4 separate regions of the Homo sapiens genome follow, and all the other regions are linked to region 1. Evidence: promoter capture Hi-C in human tissues and cell types (Jung and others, 2019). All regions are on one chromosome and are shown on one strand. Each heading gives the region's core, a stretch centred on a gene start or on the middle of the fragment in contact. The rest is flanking DNA. Distances are from core to core; before and after follow the strand shown. Region 1 holds the start of FOXD1 (forkhead box D1). Region 2 holds the start of LOC124901002 (a long non-coding RNA gene). Region 3 overlaps LOC124901002 (a long non-coding RNA gene). Region 4 overlaps LOC124901002 (a long non-coding RNA gene).

What was found. Contacts are between HindIII fragments. The study calls those that stand out against the background at their distance.
Region 2: a fragment that was not itself captured here is called in contact with the fragment with the promoter of FOXD1 in region 1 in 2 of the 25 tissues and cell types used here (IMR-90 fibroblasts and spleen).
Region 3: a contact is called between a fragment that was not itself captured here and the fragment with the promoter of FOXD1 in region 1, in 1 of the 25 tissues and cell types used here (mesenchymal stem cells).
Region 4: a contact is called between a fragment that was not itself captured here and the fragment with the promoter of FOXD1 in region 1, in 2 of the 25 tissues and cell types used here (IMR-90 fibroblasts and aorta).

What each region holds. Positions count from the first base shown.
Region 1 is chr5:73,445,592-73,451,275 of GRCh38, forward strand. It overlaps FOXD1 (forkhead box D1), which reads right to left and starts at 3,186. Exons shown (of 1, transcript NM_004472.3): 1 at 675-3,186. The coding sequence starts at 2,771. The coding sequence ends at 1,374. The HindIII fragment of the contact is 13,220 bases long and covers 1-5,684 here.
Region 2 is chr5:73,212,707-73,218,390 of GRCh38, forward strand. It overlaps LOC124901002 (a long non-coding RNA gene), which reads left to right and starts at 1,230. Exons shown (of 3, transcript XR_007058818.1): 1 at 1,230-1,575. RefSeq lists a silencer at 3,421-3,600. The HindIII fragment of the contact is 6,939 bases long and covers 1-5,684 here.
Region 3 is chr5:73,232,186-73,237,869 of GRCh38, forward strand. The region is part of intron 1 of LOC124901002 (a long non-coding RNA gene); the gene reads left to right. Among named protein-coding and RNA genes, the nearest start is that of TMEM174, 62 kb to the left of the region's middle. RefSeq lists an enhancer at 703-1,651. The HindIII fragment of the contact is 3,158 bases long and covers 1,825-4,982 here.
Region 4 is chr5:73,262,025-73,267,708 of GRCh38, forward strand. All of the region lies in intron 1 of LOC124901002 (a long non-coding RNA gene), which reads left to right. The region is part of intron 1 of LOC105379031 (a long non-coding RNA gene); the gene reads right to left. Among named protein-coding and RNA genes, the nearest start is that of LINC02230, 73 kb to the right of the region's middle. The HindIII fragment of the contact is 4,811 bases long and covers 1,102-5,684 here.

The sequences.
Region 1 (5,684 bases), core at 1,936-4,435:
CTAAATTATTCACTTAAGCTAGAATTTCAATAAATTGGCCTTTTAAGAGAAAAACCTCTTTATACAATTACTCGCATTCCTTCCATCTGCAACATAGTAGCTGTAAATACTGGTACTTTTAAATATGATTTATTTCATATATGCAAATATGTCCTTATTTACGGCTTTGAAGCTCCTTAACTGATTATGATCTCTACTAATTTTTCCTATTAGAATTTTAAAACTAGACTGCCTCTTTGTTTCACTTCCATTACAACATATTATGTTGACAGTTTCTGCAGATATAATATTGTCGTGAACTGAGTGGAAATTAAATGAGGAAGGAAGCTCAAAAATGAAATGCAAAGTTCCTATAAAATTATCTTTGGGTACCTGTGGCTTTAATTTTAACATACTTCAATGCGCTTTAAAATGGCATAGAGTCAGATCTGAAAATGTATACCAAAGTAACTTATTTTATTTGTAGTCATTTAAAAATAATTTCTGATCTCCTACCATGGTTTTCACTTAGGAAGTTCAAGTGAAAAATCATGGCATGATGCTGTTGTTAAATTCTCTCTGAAAGTATTTAAGTCTGTTCTATATTGAGTTCCTGCTTACCCCACATAGAAAGTTTTTTTAAGTAGAAAAGAAAAACTAAGAAGGGGACAACTGAAGCCAATCATTTTGGTGAATTTTCTTTGAAAATTAAGCATTTTTATTTCTGAAAAAGTGTAAAAATCTTACATTTAGAATAGTACAATAATAATTGCCAGTAAAATTTACAATACTCCTTGTAAAGAATACGCAGTAAGTACAAAAAAATCCACACGTCTGTTATGATACAAAACACAGGTTGAAATAAATGATAATTTTGACTTTTTTTCTTGTGTAAACATGTTAACCATTTTTCCTTTTCATGAAAAAGTACACCAGACAAGTGTCCTCAAATAAAAAAGAATTGCTTCGCTGGCATTCTTCAAGACCTTTACTATTTTTGTATTATTCTTTTGACCATTATTTTTTAACGCCTGGACCTGAGAATCTCTACACCTCAAAAAGGCTTAGTTGTTTTTCATCTGCCAAACGTCAAGGGAGCCTCTAGTGCCTGGACAGGGCGGACTCCCTTCCCCGGCACCCTCTTCCTCCCTACCCCAGGTCGGGGGTTGGGGGGCTGTAGCATAGGTCGGCTTTGCATAAATAGAGGGACCCGCAGAGCCAAAAGGCGCGCCCGGGCTGTTGACAGTTTTGTCCGAGAATTCGCAGCGGCGAAAATGGGCGCGCGAGGTCGAGAGGGGCCGCGCCTGGAGGAGCGAACAAAACACCGAACCACCAAGACGAGAAAAGGAGCCGGGATTCCTACCTTCTTCCTCGAGCGCGCTAACATAGCGTTATTAACAATTGGAAATCCTAGCAGTAAAGTTCTCGACACTGGACAGGGCAGTCCCTTGGTGCAGAGTCCCCAAGGCGGCGGACGAGGAGACTGAGGAGGCGGCGGCGGCCGCGGCGGCCACGAGGGATCGGGTGAGCGCGGCCGCCGGGCCCACGGCCGCCTGCGCCGCGCAGCCTCCTCCGCTGGATCCGGGAGCTGGCGGCGCCGCCACCGGCGAGGGCGAGGGCGAGGCCTGAGCGGCGGCGGCGGCCTGCGCGGCGGCGGCGGCAGCGGCGGCCGGGCCCAAGCTGCCCCCGATGATGCTCTCGATGGAGAAGGGCGAGCGCGCCAGCGCTGAGGCGCCCGGGCCGCCCGCCTTGGCCGCGGAGGCCGGCAGGGGGCCGGGTAGGGCGGCGCCGAGCGGGTGCGGCCGGTAGCCGAAGGCGGTCCGGGCCAGCTCGGCGGCCGCGCCGTGCGGTGGCGGGGGCGGCGGGGGCGAGTGCGGGTGGAAGGCGGCGGCGGCGGCGGCGGCCGCTGCGGCGGCGAAGAGGGCCGAGGGCGGCGCGTAAGGCGGCAGCTGCAGGCCGTAGCCGCAGCCGTAGGGGCCGTAGCCGTAGGCATGCGGGGGCGGCGGGGGCGCGGGCGGGAAGAGCGCGGCGGCGGCTGCCGGGTCGCCCGCGCCCCCTGCGGCTCCCGCGCCGCGCAGCAGCAGAGACTCGGCGGCCGCGGCGTTGGGTGGGAGCAGCGGCTGCCGCTTGAAGCGCTTCCTCCGGCGCAGGAAGCTGCCGTTGTCGAACATGTCGGCGGACTCCGGGTCCAGCGTCCAGTAGTTGCCCTTGCCCGGGTTGCCGGGCTCGCGGGGGATCTTGACGAAGCAGTCGTTGAGCGAGAGGTTGTGGCGGATGCTGTTCTGCCAGGCGGGGAACTTCTCCCGGTAGTAGGGGAAGCGGCCGCTGATGAACTCACAGATCTCGCTCAGCGTCAGCCGCTTCTTGGGGCTCTGCAGGATGGCCATAGTGATGAGCGCGATATACGAGTAGGGCGGCTTCACCAGCGGGTTCTTGGCGCCGCTACCCGCGCTCCCGCCGCCGCCCGCGCCGCCGCCGCCGCCGCCCCCACCGGCTCCTGCCCCCGCCGCCGGGGCCGGGCCCGGGGGCGCCGGGGAGCCCCCAGCAGGCGGGGCCAGCAGGATGTCATCGTCGTCCTCCTCCTCCTCCAGATCCTCCAGCTCGTCCTCCCCGGCGTACGAGCGCCGCCGCCGCCGCCGCTGCGCGGGGACAGCCAGCCGGGGCCCGCCACCGCCGCCCTCGTCGTCGTCCTCCTCTTCCTCGTCTTCTTCGTCCTCGCCCTCCCCCACCACGTCGATGTCTGTTTCCTCGGCGAGGCCAGAGGCATCGGACATCTCAGTGCTCAGGGTCATAGCTGTGGCGCGGCGGCGGCGGGGCGGCGCATGGGGGCGCCGGGCTCCGGGCTCCCTCTGCGCCCCAGCCCGGGTCCCGGGCGGCAGGCCCGGCCGGGGGGCGCCACGCTGGGGGCGCTGCGACTGCGGCTGCCGGAGCTGCGCCGGGGCTGCCGGGTGGCGGCGGAGTCTCGCGCGCCGACTTTATAACTCCTGCGCCGCCGCGGTAGCCGCGCGGATGCTGCGCTCCCTGGGCTCCGCTCGCGCCCGGCCCGGGCGGAGGACTTGACCTTCTCCTCTCGGAGCAGCTTTTGCCCCGTCAGCTGAGGAGGGGGTGGCGGGGCCCGGGCGGGCGAATCAGAACGCCAGGCGCCCAGGAACGTGCGGGACGGGTGAGAGTCTAAGAACAGAGCTCGGCGAGGCCAGGGCTGAGTCCAGGAGAGGGCGGACCTTCCTCGGCTTATAGCAGAAGGGGGCCTGTCACATGGTGTGCACGTCAGAGCGCTGCCGAGGGAAGGAAAGCAAGCCTAGGAAATCAGCCCTTCTCGGGAGAGAAAATTCACCCGTAGGAGGGAGGCAGCAGCTGAGAAGAGTGGGGAGGAGAGGGGACCTCACTATTTCTTGCCAAAGAGGCTGATGCCCGAATTACGCGGCTGTCTGCACCGAGGGCCGCTGCACGAGTTAGACTTCCCAGCCTCCTCAATTAGTCCTCCACCCTAACCTCAGAAGCACACCCGCGACACTCTGGTTTGACCCCTCGACAGCCTGTAGGAGCCTTCCAGCCGGGGGATAACCACCCCATCCTCTGAGGTGGCCCCTGGGGGACGCTCTGGGGTCGGTTGGGGGTGTCCAGCCCCTCCAGATCGGGCGAGCGGCCCCCCATTGGATCTGATGCGAAGCCCCCCAATTTAAGCACGATAATAATTGTTTATTGACCCTTTAACCCATTCTCTTCGGTTTTACTCCAAAGACGTTTGTTTTCCGCCATCTGTTAATAAAAACGCTGTGAGACTGGCGTTTTACTCACTTCTCTGCGATTGAATGCCCTAGAGACTTGACAGTTAAACTAAGCCACTCTAATGAGACGATCTGACAAATGTCATGGGAATAAAGAACGTAATAATTGAATTCGGAGAAGAAATTGAAATTTTTAGTGAAAACCCAAATACACGCACAAAAATTGCACCTAGAAACTACTAAAAAGTTCGACCAGCCTGGCCAACATGGTGAAACCCCGTCTCTACTAAAAATAGAAAAAAATTAGTAGGCGGCGCCTGTAATCCCAGCTACTCGGGAGGCCGAGGCAGGAGAATCGCTTGGACCCGGGATGCGGAGGTTGCAGTGAGCCGAGATCGTGCCACTGCACTCCAGCCTGGGCAACAAGAGCGAAACTCCGCCTCAAAAAAAAAAAAAAAAAACAGAAGTTCGTTCATAATGGGGCTATATAGTTCTCAGTAGGAGGAACATTCTAGTCAGCACTTTGCATAGTAATCTCAAAATACTTAAATTACATAACATATACATATTTCTACTGAGGCTTATTAATAGAAACTATAATGATAGATGACTTTAAGATAAACTTTTTAAAAATGTGTTTTTGGAAAATCCTTAAATATTGTTAATCCTTTCTGGTGAGATGAAAATTTTTTTTATGAGATTAAAGTTCCGCTCAATTCAGTTTTCTTTTCGGGTGACAAGATAGTGGAAATAATTAAGATATGATGCTCTTTTAAATATACCTATCTTTATCACCAACTCAAACGAGCTATTTTGGCTAGTGGAAAAATCCTAATAGTTTGTTGAATTCACATTCACTTATTTGTGCATTTCCTAAAATGCTTCTATTTCAAAGAGGGGAGCTTGTCCCAAAAGTTTAACTTTCTGATTAAAATGACCCCTTGACAAGAACTAAGAATCAAAATTCAATGGCGTTCTGTAGGAACAGCCATCAGCTGCCCTTGTGTATATCATTTTATCGACCAAGTACTTTTCACATTCTGAAACGTGTCATTACTACCGCTGTCAATCACAGAGCCTCAGAAATAAACTGTTTCCCCATCTAAAGACCTCTATTAAAATCGAGTTTTTGTTGCTGAGGACTGCTACCACCAGTTACTCTTACAAGTGACCCATAAAGGCTATCATAGGTCTTTGAACAATCTATGAGAAAGCCTCGACGTTCTAAATAAATTATTTTTCATTAACTCTTGTTTGATATATGGGTGAACAATTTAATTACTGTAATAGGCTGAGCATTAACCTGAGCCAACATTAATCAGCACTATTAATCAGGCATCACATTGCTTTGTTGATGCAGCCAGGAGTCCTTACCAAGGAGTTCACTTTTACATTGGAAAGTTTAAGTTTTATAAGTACTCAGTCGATATCTAAATAAACACCATGACTTTCGCAGCACTGAGGGTTGGTGTGTGGCGAAGTTATTCAAAGATGAAACAGAGAGGAAGAATTTGTTCGCAGACCATTAATGACTTTAGATGACCGGTTACAGCCATCATTCCGTTCATGGCGCGGGAGATAGACTGCGTTCGTTTGTAACTTTGTCCGCAAGTTCTTCCCCCAAAGGGTTAAGAGGCTCTTCCCTGGAAACGTTTGCAGAATGTGGCGAATTATCTCCTGGCCACTCCGGGGAAAGTTTTAGGACTTACTGAAGGTCAGAGTGGAAGATCAGCCCAGAGGGACCGCTGCAGAGACGGAGAAGTGTCACTAAGATTTAGGCGAGCTTTACTGAAGCCCCACATGTGGATGTGACCACTTGTTTTGTTTGCTTAGTTAAGCTACATGTTTGTATGCAACCTTTAGCTCCGCAGTCGCGAAATTCCCCGAGCGCGGAAACTCAAGCGATTCACGTCTTGCGCGACCCCCTTGTCTCCCCCATCGTCCCCTACCCCGGGCCTCCTTCTCTACAGCGCTCCC
Region 2 (5,684 bases), core at 1,921-4,420, 230 kb before region 1:
GCTGTATACCCAAGGGATCATAAGTCATTCTAATACAAAGACACATACACAGGTATGTTTATTGCAGCACTGTCTACAATAGCAAAGACTTGGAACCAACCCAAATGCACATCAATGATAGACTGGATAAAGAAAATGTGGCACATATACACCATGGAATACTATGCAGCCATAAAAAAGGATGAGTTCATGTCCTGTGCAGGGACATGGATGAAGCTGGAAACCATTATTCTCAGCAAACTAACACAGGAACAGAAAACCAAACACCGCATGTTCCCACTCATAAGCGGGAGCTGAACAATGAGAACACATGGACACAGGGAGGGGAACATCACACACCGGGGCCTGCTGAGGGGTGTGGGCTAGGGGAGGGATAACATTAGGAGAAATATTTAATGTAGATGACGAGTTGATGGGTGCAGCAAACCACCATGCCACTTGTATACCTATGTAACAAACCTGCACGTTCTCCACGTTTCCCGGAACTTAAAGTATAATAATAATAATAATAATAATAATAATAATAAAGAAGAAGAAGAAGAAGAAGGAAGAAGAAGGAGAAGAAGAACAAGAACAAGAAGAAGAAAGAAAGAAAGAAGGAGGAGGAGGAGGAGGAGGAGATTATTGAACAAATTGGCATCGCCAGAACATTCAGAAACTGCCAGTCTGCCAATCGGGGAAGTCAGTAATTTCCTTTGTGCTTGTAATTGTGTGTGAACCTGTTTGCTTGTGGTTGTGATTTTACAGTAGATGACATAACAGGGTCATAGTTTTTGCTTGTAAAATTGTTCCTAGCACATTTGAGGGGACTAATTGGTTACACGGTGCCCTGTAGAGATGACTGTGACTTTGCAGGTACTTGATCTCTGACTAGTCTGAGGATCACCCCTGGGGGCTGCCAGGCTTGAAACTTTACAAGATTCCCCTTCGCCTGAGAGGGGGACCATTGGCCACCTGAGCAGAGAAGAAAAGACTTGAATATGCAGCAAGCTCAGCGTATGTGACTTTTGAATGTTCTTGAAATGAGTCAAGAACTCAAATCTGGAGTTTGAACAGGAAACTGGAACACAGTGGGAGGTCTGCGAGGGTGGAGGATGGGCGTGCTTCCAGGATTTCAAAACACAAAACAGGTGGTTTTCAGTGGTGTTGGCTGGCTGGGGGAAAGATGGAGAGGGGAGGGGTGAATAGAAAGTAGGCAGGCTTCTGGGTGGATGGGGCCCAGCACCCACAGCCTAGGCTGGCTGCCTGAGAGTAGCGAGTGACAGGTAAGGGCTCTGAACCTTCCTGCGTGCTACCCAAGGAGTGCCTAGGGCTACCAGGAGGCCCAGGGAGGAACCTTGAGACCTGAGAAAGGCTTTTCTTCCCCGAGAGGACCACTGCTCAGGCTCAGAGGCCATGGGGTGAAGTGCACAAAAAAGTGGGCGTCCAGCCATGCTCTAAGTCCCCCGAAGATGAAGACCAGGGAGCAGCTTCCTCCAATGAAGCAGCAGCAATCAGAGGACCAGGAGGCTGAAGCCCTGAGCCCAGCCAGAGGCAGGATCAGCCAAGTCTGGGACAGGCTTCAATTATTTTAGGGTAAGAAATCTGTGCTTTGTAAATAGCCAGATGTCTTTGCTTTGGTATATTTTAATTTTTTGTTTGTTTTACTTTTTGTTGTTGTTGGTGTTGTTGGTTTAGAAAAACTCGAAGTAAGAAAAGGGTAATGGGATCCTTGTTCATGTCTGGGAAGTCCCAGTGAGAGAGTCAAGGAATCCTCCAGCTACTGAGGCCCCTGGTGAAGTGAATCATGGAAATGTGACAAATCACAACCCCAGAAGAGGCTGCTCTGGAGCCCCCTGGGGAGTCTTTAATGAACTCTTTAACATATTGCATGAACGAAGAAAACGGTGATTTTAGTGACATTTTAGGTATTAGGGACAGAAAGGGAAGCATCTTCCCGGCAGACATAAAAATGGACAATTTAGACATGCCCCATCCTGTTCATACAGGAGGATGGACAAAAATACTTTCTAAGCAGCTGGGACATAATGCGAAATGCCTCTTGGCTCACCCAAGGGTCTTGGCTGCCCAATTTCCCTTTACCCTCTCTAGCCCTTATGCAAAGAACAAAATAAATAGAAGTCTATAGTCTTCAGTCTTTGCAAACAGACCTGCCTGACATCAATTAGCACTAACCTCTGGCAAGTGGCAATCCTCAAAAAAAGCTCCAGGATGTTTTCAACATGAGGATTTTAATGTGTTCTCTAAATGAGGATTCTAATGACCATTTCCCTGACGAAGCAACCAGGCTTGAGATAGTATATGGTGACACTCGTTAAGTGATTCCCTGTGAGTGAGGGATAAACCTGTGAATGGAATAAGGTCCACGGGCCCCCATTCCCTGCCTATTCCATTAGCCATTGGAAATCTCCAGTCAGCCACGGCTGCAAATGGGTGTCCTGGGGCTGGCAATTGACTGATAAGTCCCAGAGCCCTCATTCCAACCTATTGTTCAGAAAACATCCCCACTGTTCATATTTCAGGAGGGCGGGGGAGTGGCAGCAGAGAGAAGCGGCAGGTAATTTATTCAGGAGCTGGAAGCTGAGAAACGGATTTGGTAAGCAAATACTTCAAAGCTCACTAGAGAACTCCCATAAAACATAGACCTTCTGCAGCAACCAGGGAGTGATTTAAATCCAGTTGGAATTTCTAGGGATAAGGAGTAAGACTTATCAACTCAGTTCAGAGCCTCATGAATAATTTCACCTGACACGGGACACTGAACCAGCAGAAATCTGGGATGTCCAAAGAAAAATAGATTTCAAACTAATCTTTGTTCCTCAAGTTTTATTCCTAAGTGGGGAACCGGGGTGGGAGAGGGGAGCCCAGACAGGAAGCTCGCCATTTTTAGACACGTTATATTTTGTCCTTGTGTGAGAAATGTTGGATGGGAAACACATTTTCTGGCAGCTGAAACCTCGCTGGCTGGGCTGGCTAAGGGAAAGGCCACGAACCCACGTACTACCAGGATGTGGAAGTCATTTGTAACTCCCTCTAGGCTAGTACAGGCAGTGAAAGGGGGAACTTAAAATGAAATAAACACCTAAGCCCGGAGCTGCAAAGCTGGGACTACGTTACTCGTGGTGCCTTAAACCCCAAGCTTTATCCGCCCCATCTCCCACCACCTCACTGCAGACACCCTGCCCTCCGTCCGTGCATAACCACGTTCTCGTTCACGAAGCGGCCAGCCTCGCGGCGCTGGGGAGAAGGCTTCCTCCTTGTCCGCACTTCTGGGTCAACAGCCTTAGATGGGGCGGGGGGGGGGGGTGCGGAGCTGCCGAAACCTTCTCGAAGATCCCAGGGAGTCTCTGTCCCGCAGAATCAGCACCATCCTCCTCGGAGCGCAGCTTTTCCTCCCTGCCCAAGTGCGGTGCACCCGCGCACCACCCAAGCGCCCAGCATCGAGGGCGCGGCGGCGGCGGCCAGGGCGGCCAGGGCCCTTGAGCACCCGCGCGGTTTTCCCCCTATGGCCGCATGGGGGCAGGAGAGAGGAGCTGTGGCGCAGAGCACGCGGAGAGGGACCTGGAGCGCGGGAGCCAGGACGGCGCAGGCAGCTGGGGAGGCCGCGGGGCTGCCCAGCGAGTGGAGTGCCCAAGAATTGGCCGGGGTGGAAAGGTCCGCGGGAGACGATCCCCGACCTCCGGGAACAGGCCTGCGGTCGGCCGCCTTGGCACCCAGGCTCTGCCGCCCCCGGAGACTCGGATCGAGCGCTGGAAGTGGCCGCAAGGGACGCGAGGGAGAGCAGAGCTGTGAATCAGCCGGAAAGTCACTCCAACTCCAGGGAATTCCGCTCCGGGAAGAAAGGTGGCGAGCTTCTCCCTGCGTTCCCCTCCACCCCCAGCCTCCGAACGCACCTTCCCTGCGCTGGCGACCAGCTGTCACCCCCATTTTGCAGCTACTGAGACTTGAGATGTTGGGAGCCTAAAGGACATCATTTAGAACATAAAGTAATTATGGTGATTCTGAGCTCTGTGGCCAGAAAGTTTAACTTCAGGAGATATATATATATATAAAATTGAATGGCCACCTTTTCTTTTTCTATTTTCTCCATGTCAGATCTTTCATCTCTTAGTAGAGACTTCTACACCTTTCTGTTATTCCACCCGAAGAAGTTATGGTCACCTGGTTCTCTTTCCTTCACCAAATCGTCTCCATTTTTCTTCTCCCTGCTTCCAAATTTAATTCTCTCTCTCTCTCTCTCTCTCTCTCTCTCTCTCTCTCTCTCTCTCTCTGTCTCTCTTCCCACCACCCCCGCCCAGCCCAGAGATAGGTTCTCACTTTGTCACCCAGGCTGGCGATCTCAGCTCACCCCAGCCTCGACCTCCTTGGTTTAAGTGATCCTCCTGCCTCAGCCTCCAGAATAGCTGGGACTACAAGCGTGCACCACCACACCCAGCTAATTTTTGTATTTTTAGTAGAGACGGGTTTTCGCCATGTTGTCCAGGCTAGTCTCAAACTCCTAGGCTCAAGCCATCTGCCTGCCTAGGCCTCCCAAAGTGCTGGGACTACAGGCGTGAGGTACTATGCCTGGCCCAAATTTAATTCTTAACTCATTTGAACCAAAACTAGCCAAAAGTTCCAGAGGGCTCCAACCCAAATGAAAATGGCCCAGGAAAAGGAGGAGGGGAAAGAAATACACCTACCAAAGATCAAATAATATCTTGTGGGTCCTTACCAAGAGTAGACATGAAATTGTCTCATCAGATAGTCTCCAGTCTTTTGAAAAATCTTTGCTCCAAAATGACTTGCATTGATTTTTTCACTGATGATATTTATTTGGAAACTTCACATAACTTACAAATCATGTAAAATTTTTGCATTCATTAAATCTAGACCTGGGTTCAAAAGGATTGTGAAACTGCAGTGCTGACGTTAATAAACCATCAAGTTAGAAAAAATGAAAAGCATTAAGAGGGAGCAACACTAAAGCAAAGGCTTGTGGGATTTATAGAGTCATCCCCAAAACAAAGTCTTTGTCTTCCTCTTTCTTTCCTCATCCTATTAGTCAACTGAGGACAGCACTTGGACCATCCCTGGCCTGGTCCTTATCTGGTGCTTTGAGATGGGAGAGGAGGCTCCAGGTTATAGTTCTGTTGCACCACCTTCCAAGAATGAAGCTGGTCAAACTGGACAGAACACGATGGTGTAAGTGTGACAGTACAGAAAGTTGGGACAGTGCTGCGCCTTCTGGAAATGGTAGCCCAGCTGCTCAGGTGTGGGCATGTGCTTTGCTCCTTTATGATAGGAAGCCTGCCTTCCAGTTCCTCAGCATCTGCTTTTCTAGCTGGGTAGTGGCCCAGGCCCCTGAGTTTCCACTTTCTTTTTTTGCTGGCTTTTTTTGTTGTCATTGGAAGTCTGGCAATTCATTAACATCTCCACCAGAGGATGGGCAGGAGAAAGGAAAACTGGGAACTCCAGTCTACCTTGCATTTCTTAGTAGTTAGTACCTCTAGTACTAGCTGGGTTTGGTGGGAAAGAGCTGTACTGCTGGCTAAAATGAGATTTTGTGATTATCTGTGGATTTAATCTGGTCTCCTCACATCTACCATTTCCACAAATAATTAGAGATTATTAGACACATTCAGAAGTTGCATTAGCCTCAAAGAATTTAGAGAAAATCTAAATAGGCTTAAATACCATCTTGG
Region 3 (5,684 bases), core at 2,154-4,653, 210 kb before region 1:
TCTCAAATCTTCCTCTCCATCACAGTCACGTCTGGTGAACTCAAGCTGGCTTTACTTTACTTACTAACCTGGATTCCTGCTGTATAGACTCAGAAACCCGGGAGAGTTTAGGAGACCGCCGAGGCGAGCACTTTCTCTAACAATCGCGTGCTGCAGTCAGGAGAGCCCAGGTGGCTGCGGCCGCCCTTAGGAGACCAGTGATCATCCCAGCCACCTCCCTGCCCAGCCCCGGGCCGAACTGGAAAACTCTTAACTTTGGGCTTTATTTAAAACACTCGGGTTTCGAAAGCCGGGTCCCCTCCGCAGGCCAGGAGGCCTCAGTGAGCATCCTGTGCTGCGTGGGGAGGGCCTGGCAGCTGGCGGATCCGTCTGGGCTGCAGCTGCAGGGTCGGGAGCTCTTCTTGGACTCGGCTCCTTTCAGAAAACTCTTTTCTTGTCGGATGTGGTTTCCCTTTAATTAATCACTCATGCCCGCGTGTCCACCGCGCCGCTTCCCCACTCTTCCTCCAGCCCCGCATGTGATCTCTATTTGGAGGCAGGAGAGCTGGTGGAGCATCTGGGGTTGCCGCGGAGGTGGTTCTGCCTGCCGCTGGGCTTCGGGCCGCCGCCCAGAGACAGAGCGATATCCTCCCAGATAGGCCTTCTGGAAGATTCACTGCCCTTTCCGAACTGTCTGGCCTGTTGGCCATGCTGGCCTCGAGGCTCAGCAGTTCCAGGCCTCAGCCTGGGTGGTCCAGGTGTTCAGGGTGGTCTCGAAGTGCATATTTCCTTCAGGTTTCCTCCCTTCTCTGCCCTCCTCCCCATCCCCGCTTAGGCGCTGGCATCCCGCTGACACCAGCCAACTTTTGCACCCCTATCAAGGATCTCTCAAAGAATATCTTGGCCACCTCAGGCACTGTGACTTCCTGGAGTTCGCATGACACAGGGCAAATAGCCAAGCTCCCAGGCAGTTGGGCCCCCGGAGGTTGGAGGCCTTGGCCTGTGCAGGCTCCTTTCCGGAAAGCCCTGGCCCCAAACCCCAACATCAAGCCACTCTCAGGATTGCGGGGCAGTGGGCAAGACCTGATCCAGAGGGTGTGCATTAAGCCGTTGCCCTCGTTGCGTTTAATTCTCCCGTCACTCCCCAGTCACTAAGGGAGGCCTCCTACTCGCGCCTCAGCTTCAAGGGCGGATGTGGCTGGGACCACCCTGGGACTCGGGTGTCTCCAAATGTGGCTCAGGCCGCCCCACGCCGAACGAGGTGGGATCAGATATTCCCGCTTGTGAGTGTTGGTGGGGCTGAAGAGATCACACGCGGCGGGGTGTGGAACTTCGAGGGGTGTCACGGCCAGGGCTTTGCGGCCCCAGACGTCCCAGCGGCTCGCAGGGGGCGCCAGGTCCGCGCTTCCCCTTGGGTCTTCGAGAGGCGTGTGCGCAGGACGCTGCCCTCTGTTGCCCAAAGCCCGCACCAGGCTCCTGGGCTTCCGCGGGCTTCCGCAGGCCTCAGGCGAGGGGCGGGGACGCCACCCGCACGCTCCCGAGCGCAGGGAGGGCTGTCGCCGAAGCGGTGACCCACGCGTGGACCCCGCCCGCGCTGGGCCGGGCCGGTCCCCTGCCCACCCGCAGCCCTGCTCGGCCGCGTTCCCAGCAGCCGGGAAAGCTTCCTCCCTCGGTCACCGATCCAGGCCGCTGGTCCAGCTGTCAAAACAGGGGGTGTCTCTTTCATTCTGGCTCACAAAGTCCCAAAGGGGAACAGGGGGCCTTAATGCTTGTGTTTGGACACAAGCAATTATCCCTAATTATTCTTTTTCTTTTGAGCCTGCCCGTCCCGCCGGCGAGCCCGCCGCGGAACAGGCCCCGTAATCCTCCCTGGTCGGCGGATCTCAGTGGGCTCTGTGCGGCCCGAGGCTCGGGCGCTTTCATGTCACTGCGGGTTTAGAGCTGATTCAAACTCATTGCGATGGGGGAATTAACCCCGGGGCCCGGGCTTTCAGGGGCCTCTGATAAGAGATTATACGTGTTGATGGCAAGCTTTTCTTGGCAAAATGTTTTCAAAGGGCTTGGAGTTGTTAAATCAAAGCGCCATTGAATTGCTCGGGACCACCCCCTCCCCCGCCTCTTGCCCTTCCCCCACCTCCATCTTTTTCCCTTCATCCCTCCTCCCCCATCACCGCCCAGGACTGCCCAAGGCGAGCGGCCCAGCCTCCGGGAGTGGCGAGTCACCTTCCTTGGTACGATTTTCCCCCGGTGCCTCGCCCGGGAAGGATTGTTTTTGTAGGTGCTCCTGCTGCTGGGCACTTTGGTACCCCTTCCCTTCCCCGCCCCTCCCCGCCCCTTCACACACACTTGCTCTGGTAAAGAAAACATGTCCCAGATGAAAGACGTTTTTTTCAAACGTACATGTGTTTTGCAGAAAACGGAGGTGACAGGGTGGGATAACGAGGAGAAAGGAAGGGTGGCTTTCCTGCCTCCCCCACCCCCGAAAGGTCATCGGAGTCAGAGGGGTAACCATCGGGTTAAAAAGTATTGTGGGCAGAGTTCAGATGTCCGGTGAATCGCACGGTTCTGCCCTGGGGGAGATCTGCCTTCCACCCCCACCCCCGCGGAATGACAGAAAGAGTTGGGAGGACCGTGGGGATGTAGATTCTGCACTGTGGAAAGTCTTTATTCAGGGAACTGGGTTCAATTATAAACTGCAAAGGATTATTGGGTACTGTGCTGGGCCCTGCTTGGGTGCAGTGGGAAATGCAAAATTTGGACAAGGGTTTACAAAGCCTTACAGGGGCTAGGTAAACACCTCCCCTTGAAATAAAACAAGATATTTTAAGTGCCAGATATGTGAAACTGGTAACAATGTTGTGCTTGTCATCTTCCCCACCCCCCACCCCACCCCTCGCCCAATATATATCACATATACCACACTAAACTGGTCAATTTCCACAGCTAGACTTCCTGGCTATCCAGACCTTGATCCCCTCTTCACCTCTCCCCATCCCTGGGATTGGAACCCTGCCCTCTACCCCCATTTGGCTGGTCTGACACCCTGCTTGATTCCTGCCAATCCCTGGAAGTGGCACAGAGGTGGAACAGTATCCTGTTCTTTTTTTTTTTTTTTTTCTTTTTTTTTTTGAGATGGAGTCTCACTCTCACTCTGTTGCCAGGCTGGAGTGCAGTGGCACGATCTTGGCTCACTGCAACCTCTGCCTCCCGGGTTCAAGTGATTCTCCTGCCTCAGCCTCCCGAGTAGCTGGGATTACAGGCTTGGGCCACCACGTCTGGCTAATTTTTCTATTTTTGGTAGAGATGGGGTTTCACCATGTTGGCCAGGATGGTCTCAATCTCTTGACCTCGTGATCTGCCCACCTCGGCCTCCCAAAGTGCTGGGATTACAGGCATGAGCCACTGCACCTGGCCTATCCTGTTCTTTTTACCTTGGCCAGTGGTTGGGTCCCTGCTAGGAATAGATTGGTTATTAGGAGAGCTGACTGCCTAACTCAATACCCACACCCTGTACAGGATTGGACCCCAGGGCACACAACCTGCTGCCCAGGGTCACTAGAATCCTGCACTGCACCAAGCTTCTAGGCTAGGAGCTTCTCACCCCACTTTCTGTTTACCTTTTCCTTCCCACTCCTGCCACTCTAAGGCCCAGCATGCTTGCCCTGTGAACCTGCTCAAGTTATAACAAAATTTGATGCCAAGTTGGTACCCTATTTTGTTTCCTGGCTTCCTGAAGGATAAAGTGGTTCCTTGATTTATTTTCTGCTTCTTTCATAGTTAATGAGATATGATGGGCCCTGTGGGAAGCAAAGTTCAATTATGACTTTTTGTTTTACATATCCATGGAATCCTTGGCCCGGTGTCTCCCAGTAACTGTCTAATATGTAGCTTTGTCTTTGTAAGCTTGTATTATCTCTCCAAGATACAGATGGTTTTTGTGATCTTAATCTATTTCGTTGGTAATATCTTATTTAAATTTTTGAGTCTCATAGCCAATGAAAGAAAAAATAGACAAATGGGACTGCAACAAACTAGAAAACTTCTGCACAGCAAGGGAAACAACAGAATGAAGAGACAACTCACAGATTGGGAGAAAATATTTGCAAATCATACATCAGATAAGGGGCTAATATCCAAAATATATAAGGAAATCAAACTACCCAGAAGAAGAAAACAAATCACCCTATCAAAAAATGGGCAGAGGACCTAAATAGACATTTTTCAAAAGAAGACATACAAATGGCCAACATATATATTTTTAAAATGCTCAACGTCTCTAATGATCAGAAAAATGCAAACGAAAACCACAATGAGATATCACCTCACAACTGTTAGATTGCTATTATCAAAAAGATCAACGATAACAAGTCTTAGTGAGGGTGTGGAGAAATATGGAACCTGTACAGCATTGGTGGTATTGTAAACTAGTACAGCCACTTTGGAAAACAGTATGGAGGTTCATCAAAAAATAAAAAACAGGATTACTATACCATCCAGCAATCCCCACTCTGAGTATATAATACAAAGGAATTAAACTCAGTATGTTGAAGACATGTCTGCACATGTTCATTGCAACATTATTCACAATAGTCAAGATACAGGAACAGCTGGGCATAGTGGCTCATGCCTGTAATCCCAGCACTTAGGGAGGCAGAGGCAGGCAGGTTGCTTGGGCAACATGATGAAACCCTGTCTCTACAAAAAAACCCCACAAAAATTAGCCGGGCATGATGGCGCATACCTGTAGTCCCAGCTACTCGGGAGGCTGAGGTGAGAGGAACCCTTGAGGCCAGGAGGCAGAGGTGGCAGTGAGCCGAGATCACACCACTGCACTGCAGCCTGGGCAAGAGAACCAGACCCTTCTCAAGCAAACAAACAAAAATATGGAAACAACTGAAGTGCTCGTCAATGGACAAATGGGTTTAAAAAAGTGGTATATATACACAATGGAATACTATTCAACTTCTTAAAAACAGGAAATTCTGTAATTTTCAACAACATGGATAAACCTAGAGGACATTATGCTAAGTGCAATAAGCCAGACACAGAGAGACAAATAATATAATCTCACTTATAAGTGGAATCTAAAACATCGAATTCATAGAAGTACAGAGTAGAATGATAGTTCCCAGAGGCTGGGAGCAGGGGAGAGGGGAAGATGGGGAAAGGAGAAACATCGGTTAAAGGTACAAAGTTGCAGTGAGACAGGAGGCATAAGTTCTGGAAATCTACTGCCTAGTATGGCAAATATAGCTAATAGTTATATATACTTCAAAATTTCAAAAAGAGAGGATTTTAAGTGTTCTCACATAAATAAATGATAAATATCTGTGGTAATGGGTATGTTAATTAGCCTGATTTGATTATTCCACAATGTATACATGTATAGAAACATCACATTGTACCATATATATATATATATATATATAATTTGTGAATAAAAACATAACTTAAATAATACAAATATATTTTTGAGGCTGATAAACAGAACTCACTTATACTTCCTTTTCTCATGCTGTTGTCTGGTTTTGGTATCAGTTATGCTAAACTCATTCCATTTCAATCCACAATTTTTTTTTTTTTTTGGAGACCAGGTCTTGCTCTGTCACCCAGGCTGGCAGTAGTGGCGAGGCCTCAAAATCCTGGGCTCAAGGGATCCACCCAGCTCAGCCATCTGAGTAACTGGGCTTATCAATCTACAAATA
Region 4 (5,684 bases), core at 2,257-4,756, 180 kb before region 1:
TTGTAATTCCCAGCATAGTATGAGGCACGAATTTCATGTTTATCTCAGTTTCCCTTGATCCCTAAATCCCACAGGGGCAACCATAGCCTCATCGAGTGACCCAGGTGGATGCTACAAGCACCATGAAGTTCTATCTCAGTTGGGAAATGCCCAGGTCAGAGAATGTGAGTCCTTTTTCTTGCGCTGCAAGCAAACTTCCTCCTCTTTGCTCCAAAGGGAGTCACTCTCTTTAACTTCCAAGGACGTTTGCTATACAAACATCTTTGAAAACAATCTAGAACAAAATGACAGCACCTCACTCACAACACGTGCAGAAATGTGAAACACCCAGAGAGAATTGTTTCCCAGCAACAGCCAAAATCTAAATCAGGGCATTTAGTGGCTCCTCACACTTACTGAATAAAGACCCTCACACTAATACCACTGCCTCTATCAGCCTCATTGCTCCTCTCCCTGCTTCACAATGTGAATTTGAAATAACCTGCAGCCCCTCAGTCTGTGTTCATTCTTGCCCACAGGTCTTTGTTTGAGTCATCTTCTTTGACTAAATTTCCTTCTTCCTTCCATAGAAGTCATTCATTTCATGCCTGGGAAGTTACCTTTTGAGGCTCCCATGCATTCTGAGGGTTGCTGGGTTTAGTGCGTATCTACGAGGATGTGGGACTGGCAATTATCACTCGTTATTGGACTAACATTTACCATCTGCAACTGTTTTCTTCTTTCTCTAAATGGAACCACCCTCTATTTGGTGAAGGCACAGCACGTTCTAGTGAAATGAGTCTCCATGATTTTCTTAGCAATTTCTACGGCAGGGTTGGGTAAATACCTGCTTTCTATTCTCACTCTTGGTTTTAGTTTGCCCCCTGTTGCACTGTCTCCCCAGCAGGCATGGAGCAGCTCCATTTGGGGCAGGCCTTGCTCTGAGCCTGGTTGTTTTCACTGTACCAAAGTCAAAGTCAAAGGTGTATTTTCACTTACAAAATAGCCATGCATACCATAGCTTTCTAAATCTCCAACTGGAGGCCTATTGCATGCCTGAAAGGAGTAGAATACAGTTTAGAAGAGTGGCCCAGGGCCTACTTATGCAATACCACAATTTCCACTTCTCTTCCCAAATAGACCTCATTAGAATGTGTCACAAGAATAGTATTGCCTTGGATACAACAGCTTTCAGAAAGGCTGTGAGAAAACCATTGATTCATTCCAGAAATGAACTCTGGTGGCCATTTGACCATATTTTGAGAGGCATCAGTTTTGAAAGGACTCTAAGGAATGGTGCCCAAGCAACATTGACTTCATCCAACTCCTTCTCTTGTATTGTCCTTCTTTTTGTTTTTGTTTCTCTGTGAAATGAAAGTAATAGCATGAGCCACCCTCCTGGCTCTAAGTAATGAGAACAAATTAAGAGCCATAACATTAGGCCTGCAATACACTGGTGGAACTGAGTGGAAAATGCTGTTTGAGACCATGCCAGAATTTTCCCACTTTCCATTTTCTTTTTGTTTGTGTGTCATCTTTTGGGATATTAGCCCAGCTGATGATGACACTTCTTACTGAGGCCTCTGATGAGAACTATGAGGCTGGGCTCCTGGTAACCATGGGTTTATGAAACAGAATTCTGGCCCTTACCTCCCACCCCATAGGGATCTTCTTCATTCCTTTGTGTATCCCAAGCATGTAACAGTGCCTGGAATATACTAGGTGTGCAAGAAATACTTATTAAATTGATGATATCAAGGATTGAGACTAACAGTTTTCTCCTGTGCTTGAGGCTGGAACTCTCACATGTGGACTCTGGAGGTGTGGGCAGCTTCATCCCATCATGGAGCCTGGGGAGCAGGGGAAGCCAGTCTTTGGACACCAAGGAGTCTTGGAGGGAGGGATCTGCAGAGGGAGAGCTTGGGCTGGCTCCCACTGATTCTCTACTTTCTGCTTCCAGGATTTTTCCCAGGCCAAGCTGCAAACTTCTTTATCTTTGAATAAGTTCCTTTCTCTGTGCTTAAACTAGCTTCAGGGGCTTAGTCCAAGGCAACACAGAAAATTTGGGAGTTGACATGGTAGAAGTCTAGGTGTGACTAATAGGAAGGGCCACATACTGCCAGTGGAGCTAAGACAGGTTGTGACCTATGAGAAATCCTCAGTGAACTGGCTACGACCCACCCCTTTCTCTCCCACTCATCTGAACTCACAGGTGTGTTCTGACAGTGATATATGGTCACTGGCTTAACACAGAGGGGGGCATGAGATCTTTAAACCATAAAACTGCAGTTCCACAGAAATGTTTGATAATGTTACACAGGAAATATCATGGAGCCCATGGTAGAGCACTAAAACCATGGTCTGAAATGGGAATTTTTTTTCTCCCATCACAAAATAGCGGCAAGTAAACACCCTTTCTCACCGCCATAGCCTTATGGAGACATGTAAGACAGATTACCACATGTTTGGAGCAGAAAATCAGACAAGAAGCTGCAATACCACACACACAGATTGCGGTCCTGCTAATCAGTCATTGGTGGCAGGTCCCTCTGCAAGGTATACTGGAAGTGGGGCAGGGGGACATTCTAGGTTCAATGTTATTAAGAATTAACTTCCAGAGATACAGCTGATGAGTTAAGTTTTTACATTTCAACTCTGAGCATTTTCAAGACTACTCATAATTTTCTGCAGTTAATATTAAATATGCCATTAAAAGGAAGCACATTCTGATGTGTGGAACAGAAAGAATTCATATGACAAAAGAAAATTCCAGACTGAACCAGGACGAAGACATTTCCCGTAGCGACGCCCAGCCTAGTATTTCACCAGTACTAATGAGAAGCTGTAACAGCCAGCTGGTTTTGCTAAGTTAGGCTGCAGTATCAGACAACCCTACAGTCTCAGGAACTTACAGCAGCAAAGGTTTATTTCTCACCCCAGACTGCTGTAGCTCAACTCCCAACTGCCCCAAGTCTCCCCACTTGGATCAAGACTAAAGGAGCAGTTCCTATCTGGAACGCACTGTTCTCATGGCAGAGGGAGGAGAGAGGGCAGAACCACAGCATGGCCCTTAAAGCTTCTGATCACAGCAGCAGCCCCACTTCCCACTCACATTTCATCGGACAAAACAAGTCACTGGGCTGACCCACCTTCAATGGGCAGGAAGTTCAATCTCCTAGGACAGACTACTAGGGTTGGGGCCAAGCCAGGAGGGGCAGGAATATTTGGACATAATATAATACAGCAGGGATTAGGCTGTATTTCCAGAACCACATCATCTATTAACAGCAGTCTGATGTATATAATTATGCTTACATTAATTGTATAGTGAACAGTTTAGAGTCAAAACGTGAGGTCAGTCATTTCTAATTATTCTTTTTGTGGCTCTCAAAAATTTGGGTATTGGAGATGCCCTCAGGTATTAATATAAACCACAGGATGGACTGGATGAACCCTATCTGGCAGTGGCAGGCAGGATTCTGAAAGTAGGTAAATGATTTCAATGGTATCCCTGGGCAAGGGTGGGGGGGGAGCGTGTTTCTCAAGTTGTAGTCCACATTCTGTCTGTAGCAGAATGACCTGAAAGTCAGATTTAATGTGCAGATTTCTAGGATCCACTCTAGTTATACCGAATCTGAGTTTCTAGGGGGTGGGGACTGGGAATCTGCATCTTTTTTAGCTTTCCAGGCAATTCTGATGTAGATTAACTATTGAGAAGTGCCATCTCAGAAAATCCACCCTTACCAGGGTACACTCCTGTCACAAGGTGTGATGCCAGATGCTTATGCCATCTGTCACTGTCTGCAGCTCTGGCTCCCAGGACTGGCCTTAAGCAGGGACCAGAGTGCACTCATATCCGGGTGCTGCGGGTCCAGCCGGGATTTGGAATTTCCTGGGAAGTCAGGGAGAAGGCATTGCTTTCTTTTTATGGAATGGTTTATAATGAGGGCCTCTATCCCTCCTTCAAATACATTTCAGTTTATATAGTTCACTATTTTTCTTGTAAATCAACATCTGTGAATCATTTTGTTATTTGTCTATTTTTAGAAATAAAATGTGACTACATTGAACAATGTACTCATAAAAAGTCCTCTTAGAATAGTAACAATTGTTTTAAAACTTATATTTTAACTGCTTTGCCTCAACAATGTACATTTGGAAACAAATCTAGGATGAAAATTTAACTGTAAGTTTCCAAACCTGATTTCTGTGAGATTTGCATTTCATTAAATATTTCAATTATTGATTCCTAAAATGAAAAATGAAATTAAAAAGTCTGTGTTCTGACTGGGCTCTGCCTCTGATTTTCCAGGGCTGCTTTTAAAGAAAAAGAGAGCGGTGTTCCAATGGGAGGATTTCATTTTAGAGTTCTGTTGCAGTGACCTCTGCTGCTGCTGCCTGGGTCATTAAATTCAATACACTTATGCTTCCAGCTAAAAGTTTCCTGGGCTGGTTGTGCCTTAACAGGGCCTGGTCTAGCACCCTGGTGATATAAGCTGCCCAGAAGCTGCCAGCTCATTTCAGGACAGTTCCAGCCTCTTTCGGCGCATGCCCTGAGGAGGACCATGTAACGAGAGGAAGGAATGCTTTCCATGGGGTGATACTGACCTTGCCTTCGTAGCCATTTAAACACCCTCAGCTTGCACATTTTTGTTAGGCTGGTGTATTCTGCTTCTGCATGGGTACTAATGCCATCACTGTATTCTAGGGGCTGGAACAATTAGTACAGACTCTTTCAAGGTCTATTCTGTTGTCTAATCCACACCTCATATATGAATTACCTTCTAAATTGGGTTGTGTTCATGATATTAAGCTCTTAAATGTTATTTTCAAGTTCTTTCTGCCTTTTCGAAGTCATGACTACAGCGGAAGTGAGGAGGAGACAATTCACTACAAAGTTCAGTTGCAAGCAAGGCAGGGAGAGAGGAAGAGAAAGAAGGAAGGAAAGAAAAGGACGAAGGAAGGAAAGAAAAGGACAAAGGAAGGAAGGGAGGGAGGGAGGGAGGGAGGGAGAGAGAGAAATAAAACTCTTTTGCTTTGTCTGCTTTGCCTCTGCTTTGTTTCGTTTTGCTGAGCTGACCCGGCCTAGTCGTGCCTCTCAGCTGAATCCAAACATTCACATTGCTGTCCCTCCAGTACTGGGCTTTCTTTCCTGTGGCTCCTAAATTCTGCAAGTTTAGCGCAGCCAGATACATGTCACAAGATGCAAACCATCATGCTCAGGGAACTTCTGGATCTTCAGGAGGCTGGCATAGAAAGGACAGAGGGCAGCGTGAAGTCTAAACTCAGCCATTATTGTCATGAAATTGTCTTGAGGCTCCCTCACTGAAAGGATGTGTTCCCTTTCATACTGACTGCAAGCAACAGCTCGTTAACGTGGCATCACGGCTAACCATGCGAGTAGCAGAGACCCCGTGCCAACACGGCGTGCTGGTTTATATACCGCTAATGCAGACTTCATTTAGTTTCTTGGGATTAGAATGTTTCAATATTGCCTTATAAAAATATTCCATTCTGGTTCTTGGTCAGAGCGTTAGTTCAGAAAAGCTGCAAGGCTTTAGCTGCCAGTTTCTCTTGCATTCCTGTTATTGTCTGTAATTTCTAAAGACTAGTAAGCAGACATGGCACTTTACAAATACACAAAGACAAGGGCCTGGCCTTCGGTCAGAAAAACACAACCGAAATGAAAATAATCCAAGCAGAAG